Regions from separate parts of the Homo sapiens genome. Here regions 1 and 3 are each linked to region 2. Evidence: promoter capture Hi-C in human tissues and cell types (Jung and others, 2019). All regions are on one chromosome and are shown on one strand. The core of a region is centred on a gene start or on the middle of the fragment in contact, and the rest is flanking DNA. Distances in the headings are between cores, read along the strand shown.

Evidence for each region. Contacts are between HindIII fragments. The study calls those that stand out against the background at their distance.
Region 1: a contact is called between the fragment with the promoter of ICAM5 here and the fragment with the promoter of CARM1 in region 2, in 1 of the 25 tissues and cell types used here (spleen).
Region 3: the fragment with the promoter of EPOR here is called in contact with the fragment with the promoter of CARM1 in region 2 in 1 of the 25 tissues and cell types used here (dorsolateral prefrontal cortex).

The regions. Positions count from the first base shown.
Region 1 is chr19:10,288,502-10,291,201 of GRCh38, forward strand. ICAM5 (intercellular adhesion molecule 5) reads left to right here and starts at 1,451. Exons shown (of 11, transcript NM_003259.4): 1 at 1,451-1,624; 2 at 2,571-2,700. The coding sequence starts at 1,543. It overlaps ICAM4-AS1 (ICAM4 antisense RNA 1), which reads right to left and starts at 518. Exons shown (of 1, transcript NR_186335.1): 1 at 1-518. ICAM4 (intercellular adhesion molecule 4 (Landsteiner-Wiener blood group)) reads left to right here. Exons shown (of 3, transcript NM_001544.5): 3 at 1-19. RefSeq lists a silencer at 306-375. The HindIII fragment of the contact is 10,372 bases long and covers 1-2,700 here.
Region 2 is chr19:10,870,218-10,873,227 of GRCh38, forward strand. CARM1 (coactivator associated arginine methyltransferase 1) reads left to right here and starts at 1,336. Exons shown (of 16, transcript NM_199141.2): 1 at 1,336-1,705. The coding sequence starts at 1,486. RefSeq lists silencers at 596-1,385, 1,516-1,565, 1,656-1,865 and an enhancer at 2,606-2,785. The HindIII fragment of the contact is 23,799 bases long and covers 1-3,010 here.
Region 3 is chr19:11,382,956-11,385,946 of GRCh38, forward strand. EPOR (erythropoietin receptor) reads right to left here and starts at 1,359. Exons shown (of 8, transcript NM_000121.4): 1 at 1,138-1,359; 2 at 142-277. The coding sequence starts at 1,252. RefSeq lists a silencer at 599-658. The HindIII fragment of the contact is 19,405 bases long and covers 1-2,991 here.

The DNA.
Region 1 (2,700 bases), core at 201-2,700, 580 kb before region 2:
ATAAAGGCTTCCTTAACCAGCCTCTGTCCTGTGACCTAAGGGTCCGCATTACTGCCCTTCTTCGGAGGAACTGGTTTGTTTTTGTTGTTGTTGTTGTTTTTGCGATCACTTTCTCCAAGTTCCTTGTCTCCCTGAGGGCACCTGAGGTTTCCTCACTCAGGGCCCACCTGGGGTCCCGAAGCCCCAGACTCTGTGTATCCCCAGCGGGTGTCACAGAAACCTCTCCTTCTGCTGGCCTTATCGAGTGGGATCAGCGCGGGCCGGGGAGAGCCACGGGCAGGGGCGGGGTGGGGTTCATGGTATGGCTTTCCTGATTGGCGCCGCCGCCACCACGCGGCAGCTCTGATTGGATGTTAAGTTTCCTATCCCAGCCCCACCTTCAGACCCTGTGCTTTCCTGGAGGCCAAACAACTGTGGAGCGAGAACTCATCTCCAAAATAACTTACCACGCTGGAGTGAGACCACGAATGGTGGGGAGGGGAGGGTCCCACGGACATATTGAGGGACGTGGATACGCAGAAGAGGTATCCATGTGGTGGCAGCCGGGAAGGGGTGATCAGATGGTCCACAGGGAATATCACAAACTCGAATTCTGACGATGTTCTGGTAGTCACCCAGCCAGATGAGCGCATGGAGTTGGGGGTGGGGGGTGTCAAAGCTTGGGGCCCGGAAGCGGAGTCAAAAGCATCACCCTCGGTCCCTTGTTCTCGCGTGGATGTCAGGGCCCCCACCCACCGAGCAGAAGGCGGACTCAGGGGCGCTCCAGGGTGGCTCGAGCTCACACACGCTGAGTAGACACGTGCCCGCTGCACCCTGGGTAAATACAGACCCGGAGCCGAGCGGATTCTAATTTAGACGCCCGCGAACGCTGCGCGCACGCACACGTGTCCTCGGCTCGCTGGCACTTTCGTCCCGCCCCCTCCGTCGCGTGCGGGAGCTGACCCGGAGGGGTGCTTAGAGGTATGGCTCCGCGGGGTCAAAAGGAGAAGGATCAGTGAGAGAGGCATCCCCACACCCTCCCCTAGAACTGTCCTTTCCCCATCCAGTGCCTCCCAAATCTCTCTTAGTCCCCAAATGTATCCCCGCCCTAAGGGGCGCTGGTGGGAGGAGCTAAATGTGGGGGCGGGGCTCGGAGTCCAGCTTATTATCATGGCATCTCAGCCAGGGCTGGGGTAGGGGTTTGGGAAGGGCAACCCAGCATCCCCCGATCCCAGAGTCGCGGCCGGGGATGACGCGAGAGAGCGTGGTCGCCCCCAGAAGGCCCTGGGCCATCATGCCGGCCTCCACGTAGACCCCAGGGGTCGCTCACTCCTGCCAGCTCGCCTTCACCAAGGCCAGGAGCTTAGCGCACGCTCGCCTCCCGCCCCCCCGCCGCCTCTGCCGCCGCCCCCTCCTTGGAAACCAAGTTACCAACGTTAAACCAATCCCCAAGCGCAACTCTGCCTCCCCCACACCCCACCCGCCGCGCCGCGCGGAGCCGTCCTCTAGCCCAGCTCCTCGGCTCGCGCTCTCCTCGCCTCCTGTGCTTTCCCCGCCGCGGCGATGCCAGGGCCTTCGCCAGGGCTGCGCCGGGCGCTACTCGGCCTCTGGGCTGCTCTGGGCCTGGGGCTCTTCGGCCTCTCAGGTAAGAGCCCCGCTCTGGTTCGGGGTGGACAGGGCGGGGGCGGAGTCCCTGGACCTGAGAAACGGCCTCCTGTCCCTCCCAGCTCTGCCCTCGCCTCGCTCCCACGCCTCTGCCCCCACCTCGAGCCTGAGTCTTCTCCCCTTCCCCCTCCTCCCCAACACACACCCGAGCCCCAGCTTCCTGACTCCTCGATAGCCCCTACCCGCTTCGAGATCCTAGGTGTTCTTCCGCACCCAACCCTTCGCCCTGGAGACCCAGTGTCTCTCCTGTCCGCTCCCCGGGTACCTCCTTACGCTGTGCTGTGCACCATGGTCCACGGACTGGCATCTTCCCCACTCGCGGTCCGCGAAGACTCCATCTCTCCAACTACCCTGACTCAGAGGCGCTGTTCCCGCTCCACCCAGAGCCCTGGCAACCGGGTCCCTCAGCTGTTCCCGCGGTTCCTTCCATGAGCCCAGCCTTGCGTCCCGGCTCCGTGTTCTTCACCGGGTGTAGGGTCCTTCCTGATCCTTGACCCAGCCTCGTCTCTCCTTTGCCCTTGCCGCAAACGCACTCTCCTCGTATCCCGGCATTCTGCCAGGACCCTGAGAACTGGTTCATCCCCCATCCCCCATCCCGGGTCCCCTTCTCTCAGCCTTGCTGTGTTCATCCAAGAACCCACCTTTCCTCTCCTCTACGCCCTCCCCCCATGCTTTCCCGCCGCTCCATCGGCGCTTTGGAGACCATGGCTCTCTGCTACCACGTCCCAGAGACACCCTCGAGGTTTAGACTCTGGGAGTGCGCCTTTAAACCGGAGGCCTGGGCAGGACGCGGGACGCCTGGGTTCTTTCCCTGGCTGCAGCCTCTCCTCCTCCTCCCCGCCCTCTGAGAACCCTTGACTCGACATAGGGGCGCTAAGATGTCAGGGAGTTGGCTCCCCAGGCTCAGCCCGCGTTTCCCTGGGCAGCGGTCTCGCAGGAGCCCTTCTGGGCGGACCTGCAGCCTCGCGTGGCGTTCGTGGAGCGCGGGGGCTCGCTGTGGCTGAATTGCAGCACCAACTGCCCTCGGCCGGAGCGCGGTGGCCTGGAGACCTCGCT
Region 2 (3,010 bases), core at 86-2,585:
CGGTGGCTCATGCCTGTAGGCCCAGCACTTTGGGATGCCGAGGCGGGCGGATCACCTGAAGTCAGGAGTTCAAGACCAGCCTGACCAACATGGTGAAACCTCGTCTCTACTAAAAATAAAAAATTAGCTGGGCGTGGTAGAGCATGCCTGTAGTCCCAGCTACTCGGGAGGCTGAGGCAGGAGAATCACTTGAACCCGGGAGGCGGAGGTTGCGGTGAGCTGAGATCGAGCCATTGCACTCCAGCCTGGGAGACAGAGCGAGACTCCGTCTCAAAGAAAAAAAAAAAAAAAAAAAAGGAATGAGGCGTAAATGAGGTCTAGGGAAGAGTTAAAGCTGGAGTGCTAGGAAGTGGCCCAAGCTCACTGGGTCGCCCAAAAGAGATGGGGCCACCCAAAATGAAGGGGGATGCAGAGAGAAGACGGGTTTGTGTGGCGGGAGAGGGGCCCTGCGCCGGGCCAGGCTGGACTCAGCATCGTTGGAGGAGGGGCTGAGAGAGGAGGGGGTCAAAGGATATCTTGTGCGAAAGGAGACAGTCAAACATTAAGGATTAAGAAGGCAATGTGGGCAGAGATGATGGGGAAGGGAGGAGGAGCGGTCGAATGTCGGGGAGGGGTCCTTTCAACCGGGCTCAGGTTGCTCCTGGAGGCCAGGGCTCATCGGAAATCGTCGGTGCGGGGGCGGTGGGGGGAAGGGTTGGGGGCGAGGCCCGGGCGCTGGCCACGCCCTTTCCCCCGCCCATTCCCCAGAGCGGGGCGGCTGACAAAGCGAGTCCGGGTGGGAGGGCGCGGGCAGGCACGGGGGCGGGGCCTCGTCGCGGCTGGGCCACGCCTCCCTGAGGGCTGCCTCACAAAGCCGGGCGGGCCCGGGGGGGTGGGGCCCAGTCTCAGGGGCGTGTCCAGGTCGGGGCAGGGAAGCCGCATCACGACGCGCGGCTGCTTGTGTGGGGCGGGGTACAGGGCGTGTCCACGCGGCCGAGCACCGCCCCCGCCGTCCCCGCACCGCCTCACTCGAAAGCAGCCGTTAATGAGGCGCCGGCCTGGGGGCGGGGCCCAGGCCTCCGAGGGGCGTGCCCGCGCGCCCGAGCACCGCCCCCGACGTACCCTCCCGCCCCGCAGTTCCCGGGCGGTGGAGCCACCTCACAAAGCGGCGACCGTTCTCGCGGGGCGGGGCGTAGCCGGTCCCGCCCCACGGGGTGCCCTCTCGTTCGCTCGCTAGCTCCCCGCGCCCAGGACGGCCGGCAGAGGGCGCTGCGCCACGGGGCCGGGCCGCGGCGACGGTGGCGGCGGCGGCGGCGAGGCGGCGCGTGGCCGGCAGGCGGCGCTGCCCGGCTCGGCCTCGGCCTGCACGGCGGCTGCGGCGGCGGTAGCGGCAGCGGCGGCGGCGGCGGCGGCGGCGGCGGCGGCGGCGGCGGCGGCGGCGGCAGCGGCGGCGGCCTGGGCCCGGGCGCAGCGGCGGCGGCGGCGGGGCCTGGAGCCGGATCTAAGATGGCAGCGGCGGCGGCGGCGGTGGGGCCGGGCGCGGGCGGCGCGGGGTCGGCGGTCCCGGGCGGCGCGGGGCCCTGCGCTACCGTGTCGGTGTTCCCCGGCGCCCGCCTCCTCACCATCGGCGACGCGAACGGCGAGATCCAGCGGCACGCGGAGCAGCAGGCGCTGCGCCTCGAGGTGCGCGCCGGCCCGGACTCGGCGGGCATCGCCCTCTACAGCCGTGAGTACGGGGCCCCGGGGCAGGCGCAGGGCCGGGGCTGCTCACGAGGCCGGCCCGGGGCGGGGGCCGGCGGGGAGGGGCCCTGAGCGCGGGGGCCTGGCGTGGGGTCCCCGGGACTGAGCCGGTGGCCTGCAGGGAGCGACCGTGGAGGGCCGGTGCCAGGGGACAGACAGAGAAAAGAGGGCGTGCGTGGTGGCCGGAGGGGCAAGGTGCCCAGAGTGAGCAAGGGAGCGCGAAATGGGGAGTGAAGGGCCTGAGATTTGGGAGGGGTGGGTGAGCAGGAAGTGGGGGGCTCTGAGTGGAAGGGGAATTTGGAGGACGCCAGGCGTGGTGGGCTTAAGCGTGGGGGAGGGAGGTCCGGGGTGCGGGAGAGGTGGGCGTCTCGGGGGCGGGCGTGGCCGCCTCTGCAGGGAGGAGGGTGGGGCGTGGGCGGCCCGGGATCCCTCTGGGGACCCCCTGGATAGCTCAGGACGGTTGGAAAGTGTTTGCTGGTCTGGGGCGCCCGCGAGTACCGAGTTCCACCGCTGTGCGAGGTGTGGCGTTCAGGACCCCCGAATGGGAAACTTCAGGATCTGGGGAGAGGGCCCATGCGGGGACGGTGGGAGCCGCAGGGTGAGCTCCTCGTGGAAACGTGGACGGGACGGGCCCCTTCCTGATGCCGGGCTTCGAAGTAAGAGCTAACAGCCTCCTCCCATCTTCTTTTGGGGGATGTGAGAAGCTGGTTACATTTTCCGAAGCTGCTTTCAAAACTGACATTTCACTGGGGGGAAAAGAAAATCACAAATGCGTTTGCCAGCACCCCCCACCCCCGCTCCCAGTCTTTGTAGTTCATTCTTCTTCTTGTTACTCCTTCTTATCTCTTCTCTTTGATTCCTTGTTCACATTTTGCTACTCTGTGTCATTTGGCTTTGTCTTTCAGGGCTTCTTGCACTGATGCCCTGGGGAACCCCTCAGGAGGCCTCTAGCTAGCTTGGGTCCTGTGTGAATTTTTTGCCACTTTGGAAACGGCCCGATTAAAGGAAAGCCCGAGGAGCAGTCCGTTCACACTGGGTTTTCCCTGCACCTCGACTTTGAAAACGTGGACTAAAGGAGTTGTGTCTGCTGTCCGAGGGTGCCGTCTCTTTTTGCTGGTGCAGAGCCTGGGTCTTCTTGGACCAGATGAGAGGGGAAGGAGGGTATTTCAGCGGGGGTTTCAGAGTTCAAGGCAGACACTCAGCTCAACAGAACCCCAGATCATAAGCAAAACCTATTCACTGGGCAAGCATTGGTAGCCAACTTTGTCCTGAACAGAACAAAGCGGGGCAG
Region 3 (2,991 bases), core at 109-2,608, 510 kb after region 2:
CCGCAGGTTTCCCTCCAGTGACCACGACTGGAGGCGCCGTCGGGCCTCAAACAGCAGGGGACATACGAGGCTACGACCTCCAGGGAGCTCTGCCCCACCCCCTCCCTCCGCCCTTGGAGGCACCCGCCGGATCGGACTCACTCGAGCTGGTAGGAGAAGCTGTAGTTGCCCGGGCCCACCCCAGCGCTCGCCGCTTCCTCCCAGAAACACACCAAGTCCTCCAACCGCTCGGTGAAGCACAGAAGCTCTTCGGGCCCCCGGGCCGCCAGCAAGGCCGCTGGGGAGGGGCGACAAAGGAAGGGCATGGGGGTCTGAGCTCTATCCTCGGGAGACAGCCCCCTCCTCTTCCCTCCCGCAGCCTGGGCGGACCCGATAAGAAAAAAGCCCCGCCCTGCCATCTTCCCAAGCGGGTCCCTTGGAGGGGTCCGCAGAGGTGGTGCCCCCCTAATTCCCAGGGGCAAGTTTCTCGCCTTACTGTCCCCCGCCGTCACCACTGGCGCACACCTGCCCACCCAGCGGCCAGCTGAGCTGGGCGCGGCGTTCAAGACCTCGAGCTCGGGACTGCCAGCCCCGCCCCAGCCTAGGACACGCGCGCGGCTGGGGGTGTGTGCGGAGAGGCGGGCCCCCTATCGGCCCCGGCAGGCTCCCCGCCAACCGATAGCGCCAACCGTGCCCCCCGCCTCCCTCCCTCCACCGGGCCGGGCAAGTGATCTGGCGCCCTCACACAAACCGTGTTTACAGTAGCCTGTGGCTTGGCCCCTCTAACTCGGACCCGGGCTTTACCCTCCCTCCCCTAGGGAGGGTCGGCTTGGTCCCCACCCCCCAGGGACCTTAGCACCAAGTCAGCCCCCTTAGGATTTAGCATGTCCCAGACTCCCTGAAAAGGTAAAACGGGAATGTTAAGCCCACTCTAGCTCTTGCCCGGGACGCGATCAGGAGTCTTGGATCCTAACATACCCCACCCCGCCCCCCACCCATCCAGGACCCAGTCTAAGGGTTCAGATGCCAGCTTGGCCCCCAGGACCCGGTCAGGAAGTCCAGAAACAGGCATGGCCCCCAGGACCTAGGCTGGGAGTTCAGGCCCCAGCATGGTCCTGCAGGCTCCAGCGTAGGGGTCCACACGCAGCTCATCCTTACCTTTGCTCTCGAACTTGGGGTCCGGGAGGTTAGGCGGGGGCGCCCAGGCGGCCCCAGCGAGCAGGAGACAAAGGGAGCCGACCTGGGGCCAGAGGGACGCCCCGAGGTGGTCCATGATACAGCCCCCGCCACGGGGAGCCCAGGGCTCCTGCCCCTCCGTCCCCCGCCCCCGGCACAGTCCACAGCTGGGTCAGCAGCTGCCTCCGCCGGACGCAGCTGACCAGGCCCTTCCCGACCAGGCGCCTCTAAGTGGCAGATCCCCGAGGGGGCGGGGCCAGCACTCAGCCTGGGTAGAGATAAGTGCCTGGCGGGAGGAGGCAGGGGCCCTTCCCGAGCCCAGAGGCCGCTTGGGGGCAGGGGAGGGAGTTGGGCCGCAACAGCTCCCGTTCTGGCTTCAGACACACGTTTTTTTTTTCTTTGTGGCCCTGGACAGGTGACTTACCTTACCTGAGCTTCAGACTTCTCATCTGTAAAATCTAGCCTGGCACATAGCGAACATTCCAAAAAATGTACCTACTGATTTTATCGCAGAAATCAGCATCTCTTCCCAGCCTGGAAATAAATAAAAATTATTTTCTCTCTCTCTCTCTCTCTCTCTCTCTCTCTCTCTCCTTTCCTTCCTTCCTTCCTTCCTTCCTTCCTTCCTTCCTTCCTTCCTTCCTTCCCTCCTTCCCTCCTTCCCCCTCTCTCTCTCTGTCTCAGGGTGTTGCTCTGTCACCCAGGCTGGAGTGCAGTGGCACAATCATAGCTCACTGCAGCCTCTGGACTGAAGCAATCTTCCCACTGCACCTGGCTAATTTTTAAAATTCTTTGTAGAGATGGGATCCCACTATGTTGTCCAGGCTGGTCTTGAAATCCCGGACTTAAGCAATCCTCCAGCCTCCATCTCCCAATGTGCTGGGAATACCAGCACGAGCCACTGAAGCCGGCCAATAATAATCCTTGCAACGACCAGCAGTTGAGTGTTTGCACAGTGCTAGGCCATGCTCCTGGGCAGTATGCATAATATGTGAGATTTTCATTTACGAATTTTTGGGAAAAAAATTTTTACCACCCACATTTTTATTCTCTTGGGCTGGGCCCGGTGGCTCACGCCTATAATCCCAGCACTTTGGGAGGCCGACGTGGGCAAATCACTTGAGGTCAGGAGTTTGAGACCAGCCTGGCCAACATGGTGAAATCCCATCTCTACTAAAAATACAAAAATTAGCCAGGTGTGGTGGCGTGTGCCTGTAATCCCAGCTACTCAGGAGGCTGAGGCATGAGAACTGCTTCAGTCTGGGAGATGAAGATTGCAGTGAGCCAAGATCATGCCACTGCAACTCCAGCCTGGGCAACAGAGTGAGACTGCATCTCAAAAAATAATAATAATTGGCTGGGCGCGGTGGCTCATACCTGTAATCCCAACACTTTGGGAGGCCGAGACAGGCGGATCATGAGGTCAGGAGTTCGAGACCAGCCTGGGCAACATGGCGAAACCACGTCTCTACTAAAAATACAAAAATTAGCCAGGCGTAGGCCGGGCGCGGTGGCTCACGCCTGTAATCCCAGCACTTTGGGAGGCCGAGGTGGGCAGATCACGAGGTCAAGAGATCAAGACCATCCTGGCCAACATGGTAAAACCCCATCTCTACCAAAAATACAAAAATTAGATGGGCGTGGTGCTGCATGCCTGTAATCCCAGCTACTTGGGAGGCTGCAGGAGAATCGCTTGAACCCAGGAGCCGGAGGTTTCAGTGAGCCGATATTGTGCCACTGCACTCCAGCCTGGTGACAGAGCGGGACTCCGTCTCAAAAAATATATATATATATTCGAGCGTGGTGGTGGGTGCCTGTAATCCCAGCTACTCAGGA